Linked DNA regions of Homo sapiens: regions 2, 3, 4 and 5 are each linked to region 1. The links are contacts of gene promoters, found by promoter capture Hi-C in blood cells and fetal thymus (Javierre and others, 2016). All regions are on one chromosome and are shown on one strand. Each heading gives the region's core, a stretch centred on a gene start or on the middle of the fragment in contact. The rest is flanking DNA. Distances are from core to core; before and after follow the strand shown.

Region 1 (2,778 bases), core at 94-2,593:
AAGCTGAGGCTTAGAGGGACTCCTGAATGTACTCAAGGCAACACAGCCAGGAAATGATTCAGAAGTCTGTGCCCTTAACCTCTCAGTATCAAATTGCCCTTGAGGGTTAAAATCCCAGACTTTGGGGGTTCAAATGGTCTTACGTTCATATCTCACATACGACCTCGAAGCAATGGCCTAGAATATCTCAAGAGTCTGTGGCCTCACTCTCTGCTTGCTATAAGGCTTCACTCCAGTGACAAAGGATGGACGCCCCATTAAGGGCTCAATGGTGCAGCTGGGGTCACACTGGGGAAAAAGAGGTTTGCTCCAGCAAACTCTAAACTTTGTAGTGGTTCTGGCTTTAAGCCTTGGCTCTGCTGGAGCAACCTGAGCTCACCGCCCCTTCTCAATTTCCCCACCTAAAAAAAAAACAGGGCTGGACCCCACTTTAGGAGAGGCCTCAAAGAGAACCCCCTAAAGCCCTGCTCTCCAATTCGCCACATGCGGCTGAACCCAGATGTGCTGTGAAGGTAACAGACGCCGGATTTGGAACACTCTGTACCAAAAAAGCGAGTAAAATATCTCAGCAATGTTTTTTACTGATTACATGTTGAAATGTTAATATTTTGCACCTGCTAGGCTAAATGTACTGTATTGTTAAAAATTTCAGCTGTTTTTATCTTGTTTAATGTGGCTACTAGAAAATGTTTAATTACCTGTAAGGCTCACATCATATTTCTATTGGACGGTGCTGCCCTAGACGCTGCAGGGAGATAAGTCCTGCTTATGTCCTGCCCAAGGGTGGCTTCCCAAAGCCTCGGGGGTCTCACCGAAAGTGGCTGAGCTTACCAAGGTGCGAGAGCCTGTTTCTCCCCAATCTGCTGCTCAGCCACAGCTCAGGCAGTAGGGAGCAGCCACCTGCGCGGACTGGGCCCCTCCGAGAGGGCAATCTGGAGGGTGACGTTGTGGTCGTGGGCATCTGGCAGCTTCGATTTCCCCTGCGTCCCCTGCCGCGCCCTAAGGGGTGAAGGCCGGTGGTGCGCGTTCCCGGCACAACTCCGAGAGGAGGAAACGGAGACAGGGGGCGCCCACGTGGCCTGGCCAAGGTCACCCGGGTCAGCCCGACTCCACGCGGCCCGGCCCGCCCCCTCCCTGCCCCTAGTCGCGCCGGGCCCGGGCCGTACTTGGCGCTCGGTGATCCAGAAGCGCACGTTGGGCTCAATGAAGGCGGGGACGGCGTCTCTGCGTCCTAGGAGCCGCCCAGGTTGCGTTTCCTCCTCCTGTTCCAGGGACATTTTGCGCTGGTTAGAGTGGCCGCCGCCGCCAGGCCGCGCGTGGAGGAGGAGCCGGGCGGCGAGCCCCGCCCCGGGCCGCGCGCACCCGCAGTTCCCGCCCCAGGCCCGCGCGCCCGACGTCCCGTGTCACAGCGCCTCGGGGCCCTTGCGCGCCCACTGTTCCGGCGAGCGCAGCTCTCCCACGGGCCACGTCCTCCCAACCCTGCTTGCCCTGCTCCGCACCTTTGGGGAGCCGGGCCGTCTCCAGGCCCCAAGGGGTCACTATCGGAACCCGTCATCACAGTACCTAATGCGAAGACCCGGAAAGGTTGTGAGTGAGGCCGTCCGCAACCTCACCCTGCGCTTCTGCCGCGCCCTACCCCTGGTCATTACCCTCGAAAATCCCTCCGATGGCCCACGAATTCCAGTGTGCATGGTGTTGCGCAGTCAGGCCGGCTGCATCATGGTCTCAGCCCAGGGAAAATGTCAAATGCGGTGCCCCTTATTCATGTTACTGAGAATTTCAAGAGAGTAACACCAGAGCATCAAACCAAGTATAGGGCCCTGGGCACAGTGCACTATCCCTCAGCCCAACAGGTTGTTTTTTTTTTTCTTCCAGTGTTGGGGCAAATCCAGTTCCTTTTGTTGACTACCAAATAGGTACCATTTGTAAAGAAAAACCTGCCTTCCCTTCCTCCTCCCACCTGCCCTTCCCCAGCACAGGGCCAGGCGGGGGCTGTGTGCACTTAAATTCACGGAAGCCACAAGTGTGCCTAGGTCGTTCAGGGGGCCTCCGGAGTCCAGGACTGGGGGACCCAGCACATCATCTAGTTGTGTGACCCTCGCCAAGTCAGTATCTCGAAGTCTATTTTCCCATCCGCAAAATGAGGATAACAATTGTACCTATCTCAGGGTTTTGTTTCTGATCAAAGGAGATAAAACATCCCTAACACAGCACTGAGCCCTCAGAAGTGCTCAGTATTGGCCATTAACCTCCAGCGGGCCAATTCCTTCCCTTGCCCTGCGCCTCCAGGAACAGGAAATTGGCTCATGGCGTCCTTCAGGCCTGTATGACTCTGCTTCTGTATTTGCTCAGTTTGCCTAGCTCACTTTTCTTAACCTCCAGGGGTTTATCTCCTCTTCCAGGAAGCCTTCCCTGACCCTCCGAGTTGAGTAAGGTGCCCCCTCCACTTCTACCCTTATGCCGCAGAAATCCATCTAAGCACCAGTGCAGTATGTAGCGTGCTGTTCTATTCTGTTGTCTCTACCCTCCAGGATGTCACAAAGCCAGCCCGCTGGCCTGCTTCCCCACTTTGGACTGCTATGTCGTCTTAACAAAGGAGCCAGAGTGATTCTCTTAGAACAAGTTGATGTCACTCTTCTTTTCAAATCCTTCCTGACATTCCCCACCCCAGAACAGAACCTAAAGTCCTTGGCCTGGCCAAAAGGCACTCTGGGACCCCCACCACAGCCATAGTCACCGGCCTCCTAGTAAATCTGCATCCGCTCTGAGCCCACTCTT
Region 2 (2,778 bases), core at 147-2,646, 490 kb after region 1:
GCTGTGTCTCATCGCCTCCCTGCCCCAACCCCATGTTCAAATCTGAATTGCTCAGTGTAGGGCCCAGAAAACTATTAAGTCCAGAAAGCTTTTTTGGTGGTTCTGATTCTGCTGCACTGGCAGTGGGAGCCACGGATGGCCAGTGATCCCATTTTGGGGAGGAGGAGCTGCGGCTTAGTGCCTCCTGAACATCTATCCTGCAGAGCATTTTCCCAAGCCTCCATTTTCCTTCTTGGGGAAACTCCCCAGGTACGCGGGCTTCTGGAGGTGTGAATATGGGGATGACATGGGAAGCGAGCCGAGACAGCACCTTGCAAAGTCTGGCAGGGTGGCTGGCAGTGCGAGAGTGGGGAGGTGGTCCAGAGATCTTCCTGGACCCCAGGAAGAAGCAAGCCAGAGCCTTTTCTTTTTGTCTTGCCCATCTGGCAGAATCTCACCATAATCATTTAACAGATTATACTCAGGCACTGTGACAGGGAGATAGAAACATCCTTTCAGATAACACTGGAAATGTTTCGAGTTATGATTGAAGTAGAGAGACCCATTTATTTTGCTTAAGGTTCAGCAGAGCCTCCTGAATTTTCTTAAAGATGAGATCGTTTTGCTCTTTCCAGATCTATTGCAAGCTGTTATGCCTCTTAGCAGAGGCGGAGCACAATCAGGAAATGAGTGGCCGTTCTCTCCTTCGTATTTCCAGCAAGTTGCAGTTGTGGCTGAGCAAGTTCCTGTGCGACTGCATGAAAGTGATTTGTTGGGGGGCAGATGAACAGCATGGCCAGATGCCTTGGAGCCCAGCTCATCCAGGACTTTCATTTTCCCCTCTGAAGAACAGCCTGTGTTGTTCACATGAGAACCGACTGCACCTCCGAGAACATCATTTGTCCCGTTTTGTAGGGTAGATTTGCCCTTTATGAGGGTGGAGCCTGTACACAGGACCTGCGGCAGCGTTTGACGTTGGCCAGGGCTGGGAAGGCTTAACTGTTGGATGCTATCAGGGCTGCTTGTGAGTCAGAAAGCTTCATACCACCCATGAGGCTTGCTTAGTGCTGTCCTCGTTTCTGGAATGACACACAGTCACCTTATATAAACCACTCTACATGTTTATTACTTTCTATTGACATTTAAAAATGATGTTCTGATGTTTATCATCCAAAGTAGAAAACCATTCATCATCCAGACCTACTCTTTCTCCTTTAAGTTTTGCTGTTTTAATATTGCTCTTAAATGTTTAAGAGAGCTTACAGAAGAAACTGAAGACAAAGGCCTTGCTTATTAGGATCTTTGAGACCCTCTGGCACTGGCGAACACGAGTGAACCCTGTGTCACACTTGACCGTGTTATTCTCCAGCCCCTCCTGGGTTCCCTTTTGTTGTGAGTCAAGTAGACACCTCTGATCTGCTTCTGCCTCAGAGCATAGACTCAGCTGGCCTTCTTTTTTTTTTTTTTTTTTTTGAGACGGAGTCGCACTTTGTCTCCCAGGCTGGGGTGCCGTAGTGCGATCTTGGCTCACTGCAACCTCCGTCTCCTGGGTTCAAGCGATTCTCCTGCCTCAGCCTCCCAAGTAGCTAGGATTATAGGTGAGCGCCACCATGCCCATCAGCCGGCCGTCTGAGGCAGGCTCCAGAGCCCCTTGTTTTGCAGGTGCAGGATTCATCTGTATGCATCATGTGGCACATGTGATACCATGTGAGGTATCTGGTGTTACTAAGTCGTCACGTATTTCGATGAAGGTATCTTTGGGACCTTGGCAGCCTTTTAGGAAGCCAGGCAGCTTGCAAAAGCTTAGGAAGAATTTGGGGGGAGAGGAATGAATGTAGTATTTTTCTGTCTGTCAACACACACACATATATATATATATGTGCCAGATATGAGTGGGTGCTTTTGGTAACCTTATCTCTAAATCCTCACCAGCTCTTTGAACTAGAAACTATGAAGTGTCTTACACATGGGACAGCAGATTTGGAGAGGCAGTGTGCCTGGCCTGTGATAAACAGAAAGACTTCTGTGGCTTTACCCCCATCTGAGTTCCTGAAGGGGTGACAGACAGACTTGCCTTTAGCGGGCCTGGCTGCTTTATACTCCCCAGGCACGGCTGCTTTATACTCCCCAGGCACAGCTTGAGGTGATAAACAGCCCTGAGTCCATCTTTGTATAGTTAATCAGAAATGTTGGCCTGTTTCTTGAACCTGGGTCTGGATTTAGGAGATGGGCCCGACTCTTTACTCACTCCTTTACCCCATCTGAAATTCACTGAGTGCCCACAGTGTGCGAGTCACAGTGTTAAATGCCATATAGAGGACAAGTCTGCCCACTTTGAGACTGTTCTCCACAAAGCATGTCCTGCCTCTCCCTGGTCCGAAGCAGGCTGTCTCTCTTCTGGAACCCATATTATTTTAATTTGAATCTTTTTGCTTAAGCTCTGCACTTTTCTGCTTTGTCTTGGGGTCACACCCCTGTTAGGAGTTCTGGGGCAGAGTCTGTGTGCTTCATCGCTGCCTCTTGATGCCTGGCAGGGTCCACAGGCTCAGAAAAGATGGAACGAGTGACTGTGGAGAAGGGTAGAACATGGGCCTGCCCAGAGCGCGAAGGCAGATACAGAAGAGCTGCCCGTGAAGGATGCAGGTGTGTCCCGGGAAGCCTTCCATTGGTTCCTAAGAACTGCAGAGTTGTCCTGGGCTCCTAAAGGTCCCCAGAGGCCTGCTCCTTTTTGTCACTTTGTGAATGGCCTTCTCTGCACAAAGGACTTCAGTATTGATTCCCTAAGTTCATCCTTACAGG
Region 3 (2,778 bases), core at 127-2,626, 350 kb after region 1:
CAGGCTCCTCAAATAGCTCCAGCCTCCCCTCTAATCTGGACTGAGAAGGCAGATAAACTGGTCTAAACTGTGTGTAGACCAAGATTAAACAGGCCTGGGGGGACTCCTGTGGGGCAAATCTCAAGCTTAGAATTCTGGTCCCCACTCTCCCCAACCATGGCCCCTCAGTGTACCTCGGTCTGCCCGGCCGTATGAGATGGTTTCCAGGGAGTCTAACATCGGGTGTTTCAGTAAATTCTTCCAGGCCTGGAATTAATGTAGGTTTTCAAATCAAGGTGCAGGCAGGGAAGTCGGGTTACCTGGTCCTGGAGTTTCTGGAACATCAGAGGGTGCGGTTCTTCCAGGATCTTCTCGTTGAGCCGAGACTGCCCCTCCACGTTGACCTGTGATGAGGCCTTGCTGGACAGAAAGGTCATGTAGATCTCCTTTGCCTTTTCCTGCATCTGGAGGAGACAGATGGGGCCTTGTGCTATCTGCACACACAGCCTTCCCGGCCTGAGCCCTGCTCTCCCCTCCAGCCAGGCCCACAGGAGCTGCTGTGGCAAGAGAAAGGCACCCCCCACAGCCCAGGGGCTCTCAGGCCACTCCAGAGAGAATTTCTATATGGGAGAGCCTGCACTGCCAAGCCCCTACCCCCGCCCCTTCATGCGCCTGCAGCCACTTCTCCTGGAACAAAATTGCTGCATTAACCATTCAGAAGTGATGACAGAAAGAATCCTGGCCCGCAGAGAGCACTCAGTACCATTTACAGCCATCCTGTGGCCGGGCACAGTGGCTCATGCCTGTAATCCCAGCACTTTGGGAAGCCGAGGCAGATTGATCACCTGAGGTCAGGAGTTCGAGAGCAGCCTGGCCAACATGGTGAAACCCCATCTCTAGTAAAAAGACAAAAATTAGCCAGGCGTGGTGGTGCAAACCTGTAATCTCAGCTACTCAGGAGGCTGAGGCAGGAGAATTGCTTGAACCCAGGAAAGAGAGGTTGCAGTGAGCTGAGATTGCACCACTGAACTCCAGCCTGGGTGACAGAGTGAGACTGTCTCTCAAAAAAAAAAAAAAAAATCAAGTTAAAGTATGCACACCTACTATCCCTACCAGTTATTAAGCGCCCACTGGGCTGCAGGCACCTGCTTGGAGGGATCCCATTTCCTTAATCCCCTGGACATGCAGCAAAGGGCATTTTCCTGTTAGCCCCACTTTCCCCATGAGGACACAGAGGTCAGGAGAGGTGGCATGGCTTATCTGAGAGCTTCCGGGAGCCTTAGGACTGTTTGGCTCCAAGGCCTCTGAATTCTGCTCAGTTCCACTTCCGCAAGACACATTGGCCCCTCCAGGTTGTGCGGTATGCGGCCTTCCCAGGCAGGGTGCATTTCCTTTTAGCTAACGAGATACTGAGCACAGCAGTGGAGAAAACACTCGCTGCCCGCCCTCAAGTCCCGAGTGCAGTCCTGCTGGGAAGCAGGAGCCGTGAGTAGGTACCGGCTTCCTGTTTCACCCGAAACTAACCGAGGCTGGCTCAGGAGCACTCACTGATGGTAAGGAGATGACTTCACAGTGAGAACTGTGTCTTCAGGACAGGCGCCTCAGGGCGGGGCTGCAGGCGCAGGAGCCCTCTCCTCCAGAACTTCCCCTGAGGGCTCGATTTTCTTTTAGAGAAAGGAGACTTCCTGTGCTCATACCTCGCCAACAGCAAAAGCGGGGCTGTTTCTCTGAACGTTAGAGTCTAAAGCATGACCTTACCCTACAGAGCAAGGCAGACAACAAATGCCTCTAAAATGCAGCCACACAGCTATGACATGTGTGTGGGGGGCCTGGAAAACTGCCTTTCTCTCCAAGAGCCCAACTGGGGCTCCGCATGTGCTGTGGGGCTTGGTTTGGGAAATCCCAAGCTCTGCAAACCTTCTGCCCTTAAGGAAACCACCAGAAGGTTTTGATAGCTGGGGCATGAAAGGAAGGAAGGGTAGCCCTTTTTTAGTTCAGGGCACTGGGGACAAAAGATCCTGAGAAGCCACGGCCTGGCCATGTCCTGTTCTGCGAGAAAGCAAGCCTCACCAGCACTTGCAGGGAGACGGCCCAGGTTGGGTGAACACCGAAAGCCATGCTGTCCACCCTGTCTTCACTGTCAATAGGAGCAATGAATCGATGCCAGACTCAGTGACACAGGAGTCTCTCCAGACAAGCGTGGCTATCTAAGGGACAGGTCTGGGGGCCATCCTCGAGACCCAAGGGGGTGGCACTTAGGAGCTGGCCCTGCTGTCCTCTCCAAGACCCACCAGCTCCATGAAGCCACAGCCTCCCTCCACCACCCCCATTCCGTCAGGAAGCAACCCTTTTGGAAAACCACTTCCTGTTTTAAAGCCACTTCATGAAAGGAGAATTTCGGCCAGGCAGATGAGCAAACTCCATGCAGAGGTCTGGGGGCAGAAATCACTTTAGACCTCCCCTCCTCCCCTTGACATTCACACGCACACACACACGCACACACGTGCACACACGCACACACATACACACATGAATCCAGGATATCTTGAGTGATTCTGAAATAGAGAAGTGCAATGAATGGCTTGAGTCTTTGAGGTGGGGCAGAAGAGGCCGGGGGAGAGGAAGTAGGTTCCAGTGACTGCAGGTATATAAGCTTTGAGGGTCTCAGCCCTGCCCTCTTCCACCGGCTGTCCCTCCTGAGTCTGCGTGAGAACAATGTGGGGTTCAAGGCCCTGGCTGACCAGATGCCCACTGTGAGCAGCTGCAGGGCTCAGCTTATCTCGGCGGAGCTAGGAAGTA
Region 4 (2,778 bases), core at 128-2,627, 330 kb after region 1:
ACCTTCGCCTCCCGGATTCAAGCGATTCTCCTGCCTCTACCTCCTGAGTAGCTGAATTACTGGCATGCGCCATCATGCCCAGCTAATATTTGTATTTTTAGTAGAGACAGAGTTTCACCATGTTGGCCAGGCTGGTCTCAAGCTTCTGACCTCAGGTGATCCACCTGCCTCGGCCTCCCAAAGCGCTGGGATTACAGGTGTGAGCCGCCACACCCAGCCAAAGATACAATTTCAACGCTAATCGATGAATGGATGGGCATAGGGACGAAAGCAAAGGGCTGGGTAGAAGCATCTGTTTGGCTACGCGGGTCCCTACACTTCAGCCTCACATTTGCAATTGCTTCAGGACACTAAATTCTGCATATGCCTCATTTCTGCGACTGGCATAGACGTAGGCAATCAGGCAGGAGCAAGCCAGAGGGAGTGGCATAAGTTCACGCTAGTAGGAGTAAATGGTGATTAAACTCTGAGGCTCACCACCCTGCTGGCATTCAGCTCTTCAGGCAGCTCCTAAGTGGGGGCGGGCGGAAGGCTTTTCTTTTAATGTCCGATCTTCTGGCTAACTCTGGCTATTTGCTTTATTCAAACTCTTAAAAAGAGATGGTCATCTCAAAGAGTCTCTGCACCCATTGATAAAAGGGGAAAAGTCAGAGAGCAGCCTCCTCGCCCACCTTCAGTCTCTGGGACCTGCCCACAACAGGCTCTTCCAAAGGGAGTCAATCAGGTCGCCATGAAGCCTCCCTACGTCTGCAATGGTGCAGTGGGCTGTCCCCACATCCCTGAATAACCGAACTGCATCCGGTTAATAAACCGAAAGCTGAGCTAGAGAACCTGTGTTGTTTTTCATCTTTACTCTTTAAAATGCATCAATCTAGCCAGGCGCGGTGGCTCACACCTGTAATCCCAGCACTTTGGAAGGCTGAGGGGGGCAGATCACTTGAAGGCAGGAGTTCGAGACCAGCCTGGCCAACATGGTGAAAACCCGACTCTACTAAAAATGCAAAAATTAGCTGGGCATGATAGTGGGTGCCTGTAATTCCAGCTACTTGGGAGGCTGAGGCACAAGAATCGCTTGAACCTGGGAGGCGGAGGTTGCAGTGACCTGAGATCATGCCACTGCACTCCAGCCTGGGAGACAGAGTGAGACTCCATCTCAAAAAATAAAAAATAGGCCTGGCGCGGTGGCTCATGCCTGTAATCCCAGCACTTTGGGAGGCCGAGGCAGGAGGATCACGAGGTCAGGAATTTGAGACTAGCCTGACCAACATGGTCAAACCCCGTCTCTACTAAAAATACAAAAATTAGCCAGGCATGGTGGTGCATGCCTGTAATCCCAGCTAATCAGGAGGCTGAGGCAGAAGAATCGCTTTAACCCATGAGGCATAGGTTGCAGTGAGCCAAGATCATGCCACTGCACTCCAGCCTGGGCAACAGAGCGACACTCTGTCTCAAAAATAAATAATAAATGCACCAATCTGCTCTGCTTGACAATGAACTGAATTTCTCTGATCACGGGGCCCTTGTGTGTCATTCTCAGCATAACCGTCTCCTTCCTAAGTTCTGGAAATAGGCAGAGAGAAGACAGGCGCAGAGTAGGCCTGTCTGGGAAGTACCTGAGGAGGGTGGAGAAGCCTGTGTTTGCTGTTTCTGATGAATGTTGTTGGGTTATTTAGTGCTTGGCAGTGAACGGTTCCCTGAAGACCATCCCTTTCCCAGGCCCTGGATGGAAGGGCAGGAAACATTTGACCACAGTGTCTAGACAGCGAGGCTAGGGAATCTGGGGGGCTGCCCAGGAGCTCATATGGGGGACAGCCATCAGTAGGGTAACTGACCCAGACTAGAACCAGATTAGGGCTTGTAATAGGCATTATCCTAGTCTAATTATTGAGATCACCCCCTCTTTTCTCCCAAAAGTGTCCTAGTTTGATTGATAAATTATACAGCCACCTTCAACATTAGTGAATTTTGCAAACAGGAAAGTCTGAGTTGGGAGGCTCACACGCAACAGAAGCTGGTCACTTTGTACAAATAGAAAGGGCTTAGCAAACATCCTGGAAAAGGCCTGGTGGCAGCACCCAACCCCCTACAAATAGCAGGAACAATTCACCAAAGGGAACTGAGCCTGACCTTGGCCCTGGTGGGCTCTGCTCTAAAAGTGGAGTTCCTGGGCTGGCGGGGACAGCCTGGCCCAAGCGTGCCCCGCCTGGCCCAAGCGTGCCCCATTCACAGCCTCCTCACCCAAGAAGGGCAGGCTTCAAGGCAGCATTTCTTTTCCCCGTTGAAGTCTCAAGCCAGAGTTAGCAAGTTCAGCAAAGGGCAGGAGCAGAGAGGAAAGGATTATGATGTGTCCCCGATGGGTACAGGAGAAGGGAACAGCCCCACCAACTCCAACCTCAGTACGCACCTGTGCTACAATCCCATTCAACAACACCTTGAGTTGCCATGGGGACCCTGAACAATTTCCCACTTGTGTTTTTTTTCCTTCCTGGTTGAGATCTTGTTTCTGTCAAGATGAACTATTTATCTGTGTTGCATGAAATGTCATGGGTTGTGGTCAAAACCAGGACCAACCCACGCACAAGAAATAATAACCCTTTGATGACACTCACACACAAGCTTCCCAAGTCTTTAGAGGCTGTCAGTGATTCATTTTCTTTTTCCAGCACTGAACTTGCTCTCGAGAAATATTTAACCCAAAAGGCGACTGGCAGGCCATACCCCCAGTAGCCTGGGTTTGCCGGATCAACTCATGTTTGAGTTAATTTACCAAGTGACCTG
Region 5 (2,778 bases), core at 101-2,600, 260 kb after region 1:
AACAGCATCACCACCATCATCAGCATCACTGCTGTTATCAATATCCCACCACCATCAACAGCATCACTGCCATAAACAGCATCACCGCCATCAACATCACCACCATCAACAGCATCACAGCCATCAGCAGCATCACAGCCATCAGCAGCATCACCACCATCATCAATATCACTGCCATCATCACCATCATCAGCATCACCGCCATCATCAGCATCACTGCTATCATCAGTATCACTGCCATCATCAGCATCACTGCTGTTATCAATATCCCACCGCCATCATCAGCATCACCGCCATCATCAGTATCACCGCCATCAACAGCATCACTGCCTTCATCAACATCACCACCATCATCAGCATCATCACCATCATCAGCATCAACCACCATCTTCAGCATCATCGCCATCAACAGCATCACTGCCATCAACAGCATCACTGCCTTCATCAACATCACCACCATCATCAGCATCATCACCATCATCAGCATCACCACCATCATCAGCATCACTGCCATCAACAGCGTCACCACCATCAGCAGCATCACTGCCATCATCAGCATCACCGCCATCATCAGCATCACCACCATCATCAGCATCACCGCCATCATCAGCATCACAGCCATCAGCAGCATCACCGCCATCATCAGTATCACCACCATCCTCAGTATCACCGCCATCATCAGCATCACCACCATCATCAGCATCATCACCATCATCAGCATCACTGCCATCATCAGCATCACTGCTATCATCAGTATCACCTCCATCATCAGCATCACTGCTGTTATCAATATCCCAGTGCCATCAACAGCATCACCACCATCATTAGTATCACCACCATCGTCAACATCACTGCCATCATCAGTATTACCACCATCAGCGGCATCACCACCATCATCAGCATCACCACCATCAACAGCATCACCACCATCATCAGCATCACTGCCATCATCAGCATCACTGCTGTTATCAATATCCCACTGCCATCAACAGCATTACTGCTATCATCAGTATCATCGCCACCGTCAGCATCACTGCCATCATCAGCCTCACTGCCATCATCAGCCTCACTGCCATCATCAGCATCACCGCCATCAACAGCATCACTGCCATTAGTCCCACTTCACCAGGTCTGATACTGGGAGGCACAGCCAACTCTTGCTGGAGGATCAGTCCTGATTCTGCCAATTACAGGGCAGTCTAGTGGAGCTGTGTTCGCCATGCCCACGCCCGGTTCTGGAGCCCTGGGCTGTGCAACACACAACCCCAATCTGTGTCCACCTTCCCAGAGTGGCAGTGTGGGGTCAGGATACAGAGCATGGGCTGCCTAGACCCCAACTCCAGCCCACCGCTACCAGCTAGGGCCTCGGGCAACTCATTTCACCTCTTGAAGCCTCAGCGTTCTCATCTGCAGAATGGGGACAATAATGATCCCTGCTCCCTGAGCTTGTGTGAGGATTATAGAAGCCCCCATGTGTGCTTGGAGCAGTAGGTATTGTTACTATAGAGACCCCCAGAGGGGGGCATGCCCTTTATTCCTAGGAGTTCAAATAATGACATCTGACACATCACCAGTTTACAAAGAGCCCTCCACTGGATGTAAGGCCTTCTCATGATCATTTTCCTCAGAGGAGTTGGAGCAGCCTTGGGCCACTCAGCAAGGGCCTGGCAAGGCTGGAACCTGAACCCAGAGGCCCCCTCCCAAGTCCTTGGGCCTTGGTCCACCCAGCACTCCAGTTCCCATAGCAGCCTTTGTCGGTGGTCACTGGCTTTCCTTTTTCTTATCTGCACCAAACACATGAAATGGAGAAATTATCCTTTTTACTCTGTGGCCTGATTGCAAAGAAGGCATTAAGTTTTTGGAGCCTGTAGGGCAGGACCCTGGCCTAGGAATGCCCTACATATCAGATAGCACCCTGCACAAGATCCTGCCTGGTTGGTGCTGTACTGCTGAAATAGTCAAGGGTTTTTTTCCTCCCAAGGTTAACCAAGAAATTCCTGGGAGCTTGCATTCCACTCATTTCCCCCAGCAGAGGAGTTCTGCGGAGATGTCAACCAACCGTTTCTCCTCCATGCATCGTAAACTGTTAGGCGGGCCGCCTTCATGTGGTTTCCGGGGGCGGCTGTAGGGAAGGCTTCCCAGGGCCACGTGGTCGAGGCAGGCGTGTGGCAGCTCTTCCCTTTGGCTGTCCAGCCGCTCCTGTGCAGAAGAGCGGGATACCCGCAGAGGGGCAGCTCTGCTTCGGTGGGGTTTGGGCCCTGTGTCCTGAGGAAGCACTGGTGAAGGGAGAAGTGAGCCATGGCACGCAAATTCAAGATGGGGTGCCAGAGAGTACCCTGGCTTTTCAGGGCCTTCCTCAGAGTGCGGCTGTGGTGCCACAGATGTGATTTCCAGGGAAGACTCATTCGTTCAAGAGCTGCTGGGTGACTGAAGGCTCCCTGGTCATCCTCAGCTGACCCAGTTCTTTGGCCCAGTTCTGCTCGATCCAACCCCTGCCCTGGTCGGGACTTTTGAGGAATTTAGGAGCAGGAGTTTAGTCTTGGAGAGCCAAGAGCCAATTTTCACGTTTTAAGCTGATTATTTGTAGCCAAACAGACCAGCAATGCAAACCACAAGCCCTCTGCACCGTGATGTCCTTTATGGCAACTAGATAGGACCATGTCTTTGCTTAGTCCAAAAAGTGCCATCATGCCTCATGATCAGAAGTTCTGTCTGATTCAATGTCATAAATGGCTTTGGCTCATTAAAACGAGGAGTTGGAAGACGCGAGGTGATCAT

Evidence for each region. The method cuts DNA at HindIII sites, captures the fragments that hold promoters and counts their contacts. A CHiCAGO score of 5 or more calls a contact.
Region 2: a fragment that was not itself captured here is called in contact with the fragment with the promoter of SFXN4 in region 1 in 1 of 17 cell types (non-activated CD4 T cells); the score reaches 5.8 in non-activated CD4 T cells.
Region 3: a contact is called between a fragment that was not itself captured here and the fragment with the promoter of SFXN4 in region 1, in 8 of 17 cell types (total B cells, endothelial precursors, erythroblasts and 5 more). The highest score is 6.8, in total B cells.
Region 4: a contact is called between a fragment that was not itself captured here and the fragment with the promoter of SFXN4 in region 1, in 8 of 17 cell types (activated CD4 T cells, total B cells, endothelial precursors and 5 more). The highest score is 9.1, in activated CD4 T cells.
Region 5: a contact is called between a fragment that was not itself captured here and the fragment with the promoter of SFXN4 in region 1, in 2 of 17 cell types (total B cells and naive CD8 T cells). The highest score is 6.3, in total B cells.

Annotation. Positions count from the first base shown.
Region 1 is chr10:119,164,371-119,167,148 of GRCh38, forward strand. It overlaps SFXN4 (sideroflexin 4), which reads right to left and starts at 1,344. Exons shown (of 14, transcript NM_213649.2): 1 at 1,167-1,344. The coding sequence starts at 1,277. RefSeq lists silencers at 795-981, 1,023-1,492. The HindIII fragment of the contact is 6,667 bases long and covers 1-2,778 here.
Region 2 is chr10:119,654,947-119,657,724 of GRCh38, forward strand. The region is part of intron 1 of BAG3 (BAG cochaperone 3); the gene reads left to right. Among named protein-coding and RNA genes, the nearest start is that of BAG3, 5.0 kb to the left of the region's middle. The HindIII fragment of the contact is 765 bases long and covers 1,015-1,779 here.
Region 3 is chr10:119,515,210-119,517,987 of GRCh38, forward strand. RGS10 (regulator of G protein signaling 10) reads right to left here. Exons shown (of 5, transcript NM_001005339.2): 4 at 300-443. Among named protein-coding and RNA genes, the nearest start is that of RGS10, 26 kb to the right of the region's middle. RefSeq lists a silencer at 242-455 and enhancers at 1,221-1,803, 2,593-2,778. The HindIII fragment of the contact is 2,507 bases long and covers 124-2,630 here.
Region 4 is chr10:119,496,973-119,499,750 of GRCh38, forward strand. No RefSeq gene overlaps it. Among named protein-coding and RNA genes, the nearest start is that of RGS10, 44 kb to the right of the region's middle. The HindIII fragment of the contact is 2,474 bases long and covers 141-2,614 here.
Region 5 is chr10:119,426,891-119,429,668 of GRCh38, forward strand. The region is part of intron 6 of GRK5 (G protein-coupled receptor kinase 5); the gene reads left to right. Among named protein-coding and RNA genes, the nearest start is that of MIR4681, 50 kb to the left of the region's middle. RefSeq lists an enhancer at 2,473-2,642 and a cis regulatory region at 2,558. The HindIII fragment of the contact is 3,735 bases long and covers 1-2,778 here.